Regions from separate parts of the Homo sapiens genome. Here regions 1 and 3 are each linked to region 2. The links are contacts of gene promoters, found by promoter capture Hi-C in blood cells and fetal thymus (Javierre and others, 2016). All regions are on one chromosome and are shown on one strand. The core of a region is centred on a gene start or on the middle of the fragment in contact, and the rest is flanking DNA. Distances in the headings are between cores, read along the strand shown.

Region 1 (3,717 bases), core at 938-3,437, 140 kb before region 2:
TTTCATTGCATCCCTTGGAGCATTGCCACTTAAATGGCAGCTCCTGTTCCTTAGGTTCCTCTAAAACCTGGCCAATGTGCCCAGCGGAACAGCAGACATCAGTTAGAGATCTGACTTAGGAGGACATTGACGCTTTTGAGATCTCCAGGATTTGGGGAGAACATGGCAGTGTGTTAAAGGGCTCCTCTTTTCTCCAACCTCTCTATATTCTCAGCAGCAGCACACTACTAGAGCTAGATCTGTGTCTACCATTTTCCTCACATAGCAAGTTTCTTTCAAGGTGGATACCCCACAGTCTGGGTTCTGGCAGTGCAGCATTCTCAAATGTTGCTATTTCACATCCTCAAGAATGTATGCTTAAACTAGGACTAAGGAAGCCACAGGACAAGCAATTTCCAAGAGTGAGAAAATAGGTAATTGAATAGAAGAAAGGGAGATGGGACTAACAGGTCACAAGGGGTCAACCTTAGGGTGGGTGGCAGTACAGGGGAAGAATTTAGGGCCCTGGGAAGGCTGAGATGGGCTTACTCATGGGGTGGAGGCAGATCATCAAGGTGTTGAGTTAGGCTCAAAGGCAAAAACAAGAACCTAACTATCGCAAACTAGGTACAAAGTGGAGTATTGCTCACTGACATGAGGCATTTTCCCATGGGCCGCAACTGGGTCTTGGTATGAGAGTGGAACCAAGGCATGACTGGCTTAGCTTGGGTGGAGTCCCAAATACAGAGGCTGAGGATGGAGGAGAGAGGGTCATATCTGCAGCCATTTCCCTCCTACTTCAGAAGAAAAATTGCCAAGTTTTACAGACGGCTGAACTCAGACCAGGGGTGTAGACCCCTGTTGTTGCCTTTTGACTCCCCCCTCCGGTTGTTGTCTATCTGAATTATGTATTTCAAAAAAATTTTGATTCTTTTCAACTTTTCGTCCACTTTTAGGCCAGAATTCCTAGATCTGAAGAGTACTTGCTCAAGAATGACCTTACCTAACTCTAGAAATTAGTCTTGCTCAATAAAAAGTCATTTCACAGAAATAAAACTAACTTGAAAAGAAGAGCATCAAATCTGCCGTCTTCTCTCTGCCCTTGGGCTTTTTATTTTTAATTTGAGAAACAGAGTTTTGCTGTGTTGCTCAGACTGAAGTGCAGTGGCTATTCAGAGGTGTGATCACAGTGTACTGCAGCCTCCAACTCCTGGACTCAAGTGACCCTCCTGCTTTAGCCTCCTGAGTAGCTGAAACTATAGGAGTGCGCCACTGTGCTGGTCTTGGGCTTCTTATGTTTCACTTCTCTGAAGTTTTGTTACAGTTGGAGTTTGCCTCATATGCCTCCTAGCTGGATGGTATTCATTCCTAAATTCTATTTTTATTTCTGCCTAGACTCCTAAACCATTTACTATTCCTGAATTCACCAGAGAGTTGAGCATCCTCAGCCCATTAAAAGATACATACCCTCCCCACGCTCCCATGTGAAATGCTACATTGGTTGAAACTCATTCTCCCTCTCTGATGGTGACCATAAAGGCTTTTTGTGAGAGGGCCTGTGATTTGTCCTTGGTATTGGCAGGGGCTTCAGGATGCAACCACTTTTCAGGACAACTCAGTAAGGTACTCACAGAATATTGGCTGTGAGAATAAGTGAATGAATTTAGGAATGAAATAATACGTTTAACAAATTTCCTGACAGTAGATGTCTTAAAATTGGCAAGCTTTTCCTAGAAACAAATTTCTCCTTCTAAGAAGCTAAATGAAGAAAATTTGAGTAACAACGGTGATAGTAAAAACCGAAAGTTTTAGCTTTTTAAAAATCCTAGATTTATTCATAATTAGCAACTTAAGTGTCAAGTTGACCTTGAACTTGGTAGAATCATTCTGACTCTGCTAGTAGTTTTTAGAGTTAAAAGGCTCCTATCTAGGAGACTCTTCGTGGCTTTCATTTCTTATTCATCAATCTTCCGGATCTCTTTCCAATGTTACTTCAAAGACGACTAGTGCATTAGTTACTTCCCTTACAAACTTTGTAGGTGCTAGCCTGAAGTAAAAATTCTGTAGTTTGGAGCTACAGCTTGTTCTTCATGTTTCTTCTAAGATTGTCTCTGTAGAATTAAATGTCAAAATCTGAAAGGCGAGCTCAGGGCAGTTGATTGAAGGAGTATGATATGTAAAACACACTTTATGTACATGTGTGCCAAGATGTGTGCAAGGGGTGCAACAAAATGACTTGTGAGTGTCTCCCTCCTTGATCTGTTTTGACCAAACTTTATTACTCATTTAATGGAACTGTAACAAAGAGCAGGAATCAAAACACATGGGGATCACAGAGGCTGTTATGTTTATTGTGCAGAACAGACAGTGATAATACACTAGAGAAATATTTTCAACAAGCAAGCGATTCAAAGTACAATCATAGACAGCAATTCTACATAAAGAACAAAGAATAAAGTTAGAAGACACTCAAAGGAACAGGGAGAAAGTCAACTGCAGTTAAACGTCTTGATACTTTTCTCCTGCAAACATACCTAACTTGCAGAAATGGTAGAAAAGTTAAATGTCCAGTCTTATGTAGCTGCGACCAACAACAGCAAAGAACAGTCCTATAAAATTTATCTCCCACAAAAATAAACTATATATATAAAAATTTTATGATGTTCTTACTGTTCCATTGGCCACAAGCTTTTTTTTTCAGTATGAAAAATGAGGTATACTGGGACTTAAGAGGTAGTAGTGTGTTTTGATTGTACAACATACAGGAAATAAAAGTGTAACTTTACCAGAGATGGAAATCACTCGGTGCACCATGTTTGGCCAACATGAGCAATTGCTTCCATTTTATGAGCTGGCCAATGAGGTTTCTAAAAGGCCCATCCAAAGATATGGAATGCGACTTTTATTTTTATGAGCCACTGTTTATTTGCTTATTTAACGCACAGTTAACAGTAATGTTGAGTTTTAATTCTCTCCATAGCTCCTTTGGTGATTCACAACAGTGAGCGATCTGCCAGTCTCAGAGAGGTATGTGGCCTTTGAAACTACCTCCCTGAAGCAGCTGGAAGAGAGATGGTTTTGAGTTTCATTTGGCTTCAGTACTAAAAGCCATACTGACAAAAGCCGTCATGAGAAACTACCTCCTGGCCCAGTTGATAATACCATGTTAAAAAGTCAGCACACTCACTAGGAGAGAAAGGCATAAAAACTCTACATAAGAAGCGTTTAAAATAAATCTGGTTGAGACATATTACAAAAATCACATTTGTGTAAAATACATGAAAATATTTGTCAAGCATTTTCTTATATTCAACTAATCTTAAAAACACATATTTTTGATTGCATTATGCAAAAGCAGGGCTTGTTGCATCTCACCTACAAAGCTTCAAGTTTCTTTGAAGGTTGGCTTTTATTTTATTTATTATTTACTTATTTTGCAAAAGTATGTAAAAACGTGTTCCTTTCTATCAAATGTCTTTTACAAAAATAGTTTTGACTAGGGTTAGCTGCAGTTTGAACTATTTCAAACATTGAAAAAACAAATGAATGCTGCAAGTAACAAGTTCATTCCTTTTGAAGTCTGGAGGTAGGTCTTTGCAAGTCAATTAGTCCATCTCCTTAAAGAATTCATTTGAGGTACAGACTTGGAGGGTAATATTTAAATATTACAGTCAAATCTTGTGTGATGTGTAGTGTGATTGAGGAAAATTATCCTTAAGAACCTAGGAGCGACTTGGT
Region 2 (3,598 bases), core at 938-3,437:
CGCTTGGGCAGAGCGGGAAAACTCAGGGGCCTCTAGATCGGCTTGTTTCCTTTGATGATTTCAAAAAGGTACAACTCTCAATTTTTCTAAAATGCACTGGCAAGCAAACATTGTTCAGTTTCCCCACCTTGCTCTCGGACAACTTTGGGACTCTAGGATTATTTTCTAATCGGCGTGTTTGCCATGAAGGAAGCGATTTAAGACTAAGCAGAGAGCAAGTTTTAAAGCCCGAGAAAGTGGAGTTTAAATGTTCTCAATAGACATATCCCGCTCCAACTCTGCCCGCCGCGGCTTGGAAATTACAGCGAACAAAACCCCCAGCCCTGCGCGCTGAGCGCAGCTCTGCAAGCGCCGGCTGCACGCTTAATTGGTTGCATCCGCAGACAAAACCCTCCACTCCGCAGGGTCCCGGGCGCCCCTCGATCGTCCCCTACTCAACCCCCGGCCACTGGCCTTGGAGAAGAGCATTTAATGGCTGCAGCTCTGAGGCGCGAGATCCAGGGGCAAAAGGGGGACCGGGCCCCTGACAAGGAAGCGACCCTGGCTACCCTGCACTCTCTTGGACACTCCTTTCAACGCGCCCTTAGCTGGGCGAGTTAACCCCGTCCTGCGGGGAACCAGGCTCCCCGTAGCCCCTGCCCCGGGCTCCCTCCGGCGGCCGCCGCATATTTAAAGAGCCCAAAAAGGACCAGGCAGCCGGGTCTCCATGCGTTCTTTGTCGGGAGGGCGCGAGTCTTGGGCCACCGAGAGCTTGGAGGAGGGCGCCAAGGGGGCGGCTGCGGCGCGCCAGCCCCCGACCCGCGAGCAGCCCCGGGAGGCGGGAGAAAGAGCCTCCGGCCCCCAAGACTCTAGCCCCTTCAGCCCAGATCGGCCGAAGCGCCCGGGTCCCCGGCACCTCCTTCCTCCCGGGCAGTTGCAAAAGCAACTCGGAAAGCGCCTGCGAGCCCGGGTTTGTCGGATCCCGGTCGCTTCCAGTCACTGGGCGACACCGCGCCACTCGGGGCCGTGCACAATAGCGAAAGTCCGAGGACGCGCTTCGCCCGACCCCACCTCCCGCCTTCCCCGGGCCGCCCGCCGCGGCTCCCCACCTCCCCGCCCGGAGGGTTGCTGGCGCCCCGGGGCCGCGCGGCGCACTCGTGGGGTCTGCGCCGCTCCCCCCGGCCGGCCGGCGGGCAGTGTGCGACGGCCGCGGCGACTGGGCTCCCGCACTCCGGCCGCCCCGCGCGTGTCTGGGCCCCGGCAGTGGGGACGGGGTGGGCTGGTGCCCCCACCGCGCCCTCGTACTGACTTGCTGCTGCTTCCTGGGGCGGCCGCGTCCTCTCTTCTGAGGCGCTGGGGCGGCAGGTTGTCCCTGGGCTGAAGTGGACGGCTGCCCCGCGCCCTCACCGCGTGCGCTCATCCTGCCTCCCGCCGCCGCTACCGCCGCTGCAGCCGCTTCGCCTCGACCGCCCCGGAGCTGCCCAGCACCTTTCGGGAGATGAGGTGATAGGGCTGGGGACGCCGGCGGGGCGAGCGCGAGCTGGCGGGCTGCGAGGGCTGCTGTTGCTTAGGCTGCCGCCGCTGCCACCATCAACACCGGACGTCCAGCGGCTGCCAAAAAGAGAAGAGGGGAGGAGGAGGAGGAGAGGAGGAGGCGCTGCCGGTGGCGGCGGCGGCGGTGGGTGGGTGCCGGAGGTGGAGGTGGCGGTGGAGGTGGAGGTAGCAAGAGGAGGAGGGAAGCGAGGGAGAAGGAAGAGAGGCTTTGAGGTCGCAGAGGCTCCTCTCGCGGGTTGGGATCAGGAGTTGCGGGCACCGGGAGCACTTCGGAAGCGGCTTGGAAAGGGAAGAGACTTGGAGTGAATTGTGTCCCTTGAAATGTTAGGCGGGGAAAGAATTCCTCCTCCTCTTCCCCCCACCCTGCGAGAGAGAGAGAGAGAGAGAGAGAGAGAGAGAGAGAGAGAGAGAGAGAGAGAGAGAAGAGATTGAGATTGAAAGTGCCTTGGGCAGTCGGAAAGCAAAGGAGGATGGGGAGACTCCGCCGGGATAGGGTCGGGCACGGAGCACAGGCAGAGGACAGAGTAGTGGGTGGCACCGCGCCTCCTAGGGTGGCGGGAGCAGGCAGCGGCGGCACCGGAGAGTCGGAGGGGGACGGGCTGCTAGCTCCTGAGTCTTGCACCAAGCGCGCGCTGCCCGGGCTGGAAGTTTTCTGAGTTCCTGCCCCAAGATTCAAGTGGGATGAGTGTGTGTGAGTGTGTGTGAGTGTGAGTGTGTGTGGTGTGTGTGCGTGCACGCGCTTGCGCTTGGGGAGGGGGTGGTGGTGGGGGGAGTGCCCACCTCTAATCGTGGGCGGATAAAGGGGAGGGGGTTGCGCAGGAAGAAAAGTATGAGGAGGAGGGAGGCCAGGCGGACCGCCGAGCCAAGGCGCCTGGCTGCTAGCCAGAGGCAGCGTTCGAAATACAACTGCCTCGGCGGCGGCGGCGCCCGGGTGCCACCCGGAGCCCCGCTCACGTGCTCCCGCCCGGCGGCGGGGTTAAAGGGACAGGCCGGGGATCCCGGGCTGGCTCGCCGTGGGCCTAGCTCCACCCGCCTCTCGAGGTCACCCCTGGGCAGTTGTCCTGGGAAGGCGCGGGAACGTGACTGTCCCGGAGCCACGTTTCGGGGCTTGGCCTTTACCTGCGCCTCTACCGTGCCGAGCCAACACTTTGCAGGAAGCGTCTAGGCTGCACCTCAGGCAGCGCACCGGTTCACTGTGAGTGGGAAGGGACTGCAGTGGAGTGGGAGAGGTCCCCTGACAGCCGTACTCCGCCTCGGAATGCCCTCACCACAGAGCCTGCGGGCGGGCGAGCGCGCACATACACGGAGACATGCATGCAGATACACACGAACACGCGTGTAAGCACATGCACGCAGATACACGTGGACACGGGGGCATTCATGCGCTGGTAAACACCCGCATTTACACACACACACATACACACAGGCACGCAGATAGACATGCACATTCGCAGACACATGCAAACAATGTGCACACACAGAGCGCCCCAGCTTCTTCATTGAACTTTTTTCTCCAGGAAAGACTAGAGGCAACCGAAGTTCCCTCCCCATCCCCCTCCCCGGGAATCCGATGTTCCCAGGGTAAAGGGCACCTTGTAGATTCCTAACACCACAATTGCACTCACTGCCCAACTCTCCCTTCAGTTTACCTCGATTTAACCTTCTGCCTGAGAACTCTCTTTCTGCCAAGTCCTAATTTTATGGCCTGGGCTGTTCTGAGTTATGTGAACACCATAATGGCCACAGTCCGTTTTTAAAAGGTGGAGTACATTTTTAAATGTACCTCTTTTCATCCTTGAATAACACAAAACTCTGAAAAAATTAGGTTCAGATTTTCACACATCACACCCAAAATTATTTTGGACTAATTCCAAAATAAAAACTTTCACCTGGGGAAGAATTTATTTTTTTCAAAGATACAGACCACCGTGGAATAAAAACGCCTACTTTGCAGCCCTAAGCAGGAGTTAGGCACCGCCAGGTTCCGCTGTGCATGTGGAGGAGGCGCGTGTAAATGTCTGCTTTGGCGCGGCAGCGCTGATTGGTCCGCGTTGCCATTTTAAAT
Region 3 (3,882 bases), core at 641-3,140, 160 kb before region 2:
GTAAAATAAAGACTTTTGTTCTAAATTAGGCAGGTCAGATATTAGGTTTGCTAAATGCTTTAAGGTCATAAACTGCTTTGACTTTTGAAAATTGTTCAATTTACCTACCTTGGAGACATTAGATTCTAGATAAGGCCTGGGAACATGTGGAATTAGCCATGCCCCTTAGCTATGCAAAGAAGATTATAAAGAAAAGAAATTTTATGAAAGAAAGGATCTTGTATGGTAAATTCTTGTCCTAAAGTAAAATAACTAGTTTAAAAAAGGGATGTTTAGGACAAGTGAGAAAGTCCAAGGATGTTGTAGATGATCTGTGCAAGTCATGAAAAGACTTGTGAAAGGAAATTTATGCACCAAAAATAAAAGTTGCTAAGAGTTACCATTATCACATGTAATTGAGATACTGAAAAAACAGTTTTATATTCAAGGTGTGTAAGGAAAGTGAAATATGCTTTTGGTAAAAAAAAATTATAAGAAGGCATAGGAATGTAAATTTTTACCCAGTTTAGAGGGTTAAAGGATTGTTTTAAATTAAATAAGACAAAGCTAAAGGTTTGGGCCAGGTGCGGTGGCTCATGCCTATAATCCTAACACTTTAAGAAGCCAAGGCATGCAGATCACTTGAGGTCAGGAATTCAAAGACCAGTCTGGCCAACATGGTGAAACCCCATCTCTACTAAAAATACAAAAAATTAGCTGGGTATGGTGGCATACACGTGCTATTGTGGAGGCTGAGGTGGGAGAATTGCTGGGAGGTGGGAGAATTGCTGGAACCTGGGAGGCAGAGGTTGCAGTGAGCCAAAATTGTGCCGTTGCACTTCAGCCTGGGTAACAGAGTGAAACTCTGCCTCAAAAAAAAAAAAAAAATGCTAAAGCTTTGAGCAAGTTGTGGAAGGTGTGTAAAATTAATTGTAAAACGTTCTGTTTGTAACCATATTGGCTAAAGTTAAAGGGGGTATTATCCAGTTTTTCTGTAAATTGAACATTAAAATAAAAGCATAACAGGTTTTTCTTAGAGTACTGATCTGGTCTTTAACAAAAATTGTAAAGGGTTATAAAGGTTTATGAGAATCTCACCTTTTGGCCAAACTGATTAAATTGATAAATTTGTCTATAAGTGTTATTAAAAATTGGGGTTGACATTAATAGTAGATTAATGGAAGTGTGAAGTTTGGTTCCCTCTCAAACAAAATTTTCAGGTAATATCAAAGGATAATGAAAGACTTTTGTTTGCCTTTTGAATAAGGCAAACAAATAAACTACTGAATAACTACTGAATAAACTACTGAAAAAAGAAGGGAAAGACAAGGGACAGATTATTTGGAAAGCTAAATCTTCCCTCTATCAATATGTAAAGGTTTTTGCCTTAAAAATTTTTTTAAACTCATTATTTTGGCTAAATGAATGGCTTGTGGTGACCTGCAATTCTATCTCATAATATCAAGTGTTTTAAAGCTTTAACATATTGAAAGACTTCCCAAAATCAAATTTCAGCTGCAAAATTGTCTTTTCTGACCTCTAACTTTGGGATGCTACATAGGGCCCCTGAAGCAACTGAAAAAGAGGTAAACAAGATTATTTGGTATGTTAAGTTACATAGGAAGTATTGTCAAAATAAGAAATAATGTTTATAGGTTTTAGGTTATACATCTTTAGGTTACATTCTAGTGTATATCATCAATATGTCCCAAAATTGCATGGGATTTCTAAAATTCTAATATGTCTATATGCTATCAATTATAATTATGGTTATTATGTTGTTATTGTAGACCACAGAAAGAACCAAATTTCCTTGTCAATTGTATTTTTTACTATGACTATTTAAAGTTATTTCCAGTTAATTGGTTAATGCTGGTGCAGTTTCTGAAAACTTCATAAGCATACAAAATCCTAGAATATGCTGATGTTTTTTAGGAGGTTCATGAAAGGATAGAAAGAACCTTGAAAAGCACTCCTGAATACAGGTTTCTGATAACTTTAGAATCATATCATTTGGACTGGGTAAAAATTCCTGGAATGTTACAGAAAAGACTGACTGGGTTATAAAACTACTAACCCATGTAGAACAAAAATTAATTAAATACCAAGAAAATACTTTGCCAGATTTTCATCCTAAATCAGCCAATACTGAAATTGTTTATATATGCAATTTGAATGAGCTCCGTGGTCTAAGTCAAATTACCTGTGGTAACCTATCAGTTATCAGTGCTATGCACCTAAATTGGAAAAACAACTGGTGTTCAAGAGAACATAAGTCCAATGTTAAGGATGGATACTTGGAGGACCAGGACAGCTGCCTTGTCCTTCCTGAGCCCTTAAAGCTTTTGTTATTAAAAGTCCTGCATTCCATAACTCATCATGGAAAAGATAAAATAATCAAAATTAAATATATTGGTGTGGTAACTTATAAATTGATAAATAGTGTATAACCAGTGTTTGGTTTGTCAAACCCATATTCCTGGGAAAACAATCAAAACTTCAGGTACATTTGGTTACCTGATGGTCCATTTAAACATTTTATAAAGGGATTTCATTCAATTGTCATTTTCAATGCATGTTTTCTGGTTATAGAAAAGTTCTCTCATGCAAGAGGACTGATGTTGTAACAGTACGTTATTATGCTACATTGTAATTTCACCAGCTAAAGAAAGCTTTTTATGTTTTACTGAGGACAGTCAACTCCTTCACAAACTAGAACCTGAAAACGGGATCTTCTGAAAATATCAGGGAAAGACTGCCCTTGCCATTTACACTACAACAAGACTTTGGACACTTGAACTTTGGGTTCATAATGTCACAACTGAGAAGGGTCCCTCCACACTCTTGGAACTGTACACCCGCTGGAATCCTTAAGGTAAAGCTAACCAGGAAAGTTTCTCTCCAGAAGATGGCATCCTTGATGTGAGCAGCTTTTCCCGAGATCATGGATCAAGACTTCTCTACTCTCATGAGACTCTTATCTTTGAATTTTTTCTCCTTGTTTATGTGTCTATGAACAATAGAAATGAAAAGGGGGTCTGTTGTGTGCACTTATGGGTTATGCTTTTATTTGTGAAGGGTTTTGCAACCAGCCGTATACATGGATAACCTTATACTTTGATAGATAAAAAAATGAAGGCCTGGCTGGGGCAATGGCTCACGCCTGTAATCCCAGCAGTTTGGGGGCCAAGGTGGGTAAATCACAAGGTCAGGGGATCAAGACCATCCTGGCCAACATGGTGAAACTCCATCTCTACTAAAAATACAAAAATTAGCTGGGCGTGGTGGTGCACCTGTAGTCCCAGCTACTTGGGAGGCTGAGGCAGGAGAATCACTTGAACCCGGGAGGCAGAGGCTGCAGTGAGCCAAGATTGCACCAGTGCACTCCAGCCTGGGCAACAGAGTAAGACTGTATCTCAAAAAAAAAAGAAAAAAAAAGTCCTAATGTAGATAAGAAACTTTAGTTGTACATATGTTGCCTCATAATCACTCAAAAACAGAACATTGGTTCACTCTTCTTAACCCACATCATGGGTTAAAGAGAACATTGCCAGGAGGCCTTCACTCTTCAAGAGAGGCATCATTTGTTAGGTTCTTTTTTCATGGCTTGGAATAAAACAGACAATGATTAGAAATGTATCCCTCATGACAGGCTCTGTAGCAGATTCTACTATAAAGGCTATGGTTACACAACAGACTTAAATTCTCTTCTGAAAGTTATGCTAAATAATAGAATTGCTCTAGATTATTTAGTGGCTGAACAGAAAAGTATCTGTGCAGCTGCTGGCCCTCGTGGCCTATGGAGAAATACATCAAATGTAGATTATAGAGATTCACTTGTAGGGGATTAACGAAGAGACTGCTTAGTTAAGTGAGTAGACTCTTTGTCTAGCTCATTCTCTA

Evidence for each region. The method cuts DNA at HindIII sites, captures the fragments that hold promoters and counts their contacts. A CHiCAGO score of 5 or more calls a contact.
Region 1: a fragment that was not itself captured here is called in contact with the fragment with the promoter of HMGA2 in region 2 in 1 of 17 cell types (endothelial precursors); the score reaches 5.1 in endothelial precursors.
Region 3: a contact is called between a fragment that was not itself captured here and the fragment with the promoter of HMGA2 in region 2, in 1 of 17 cell types (endothelial precursors). The highest score is 5.6, in endothelial precursors.

The regions. Positions count from the first base shown.
Region 1 is chr12:65,964,812-65,968,528 of GRCh38, reverse strand. It overlaps HMGA2 (high mobility group AT-hook 2), which reads right to left. Exons shown (of 5, transcript NM_003483.6): 5 at 2,238-3,717. Among named protein-coding and RNA genes, the nearest start is that of HMGA2-AS2, 18 kb to the right of the region's middle. The HindIII fragment of the contact is 964 bases long and covers 1,706-2,669 here.
Region 2 is chr12:65,823,072-65,826,669 of GRCh38, reverse strand. It overlaps HMGA2 (high mobility group AT-hook 2), which reads right to left and starts at 2,187. Exons shown (of 5, transcript NM_003483.6): 1 at 1,289-2,187. The coding sequence starts at 1,399. It also overlaps the pseudogene RPSAP52. RefSeq lists an enhancer at 460-1,067. The HindIII fragment of the contact is 7,944 bases long and covers 1-3,598 here.
Region 3 is chr12:65,985,258-65,989,139 of GRCh38, reverse strand. No RefSeq gene overlaps it. Among named protein-coding and RNA genes, the nearest start is that of MIR6074, 37 kb to the left of the region's middle. The HindIII fragment of the contact is 866 bases long and covers 1,458-2,323 here.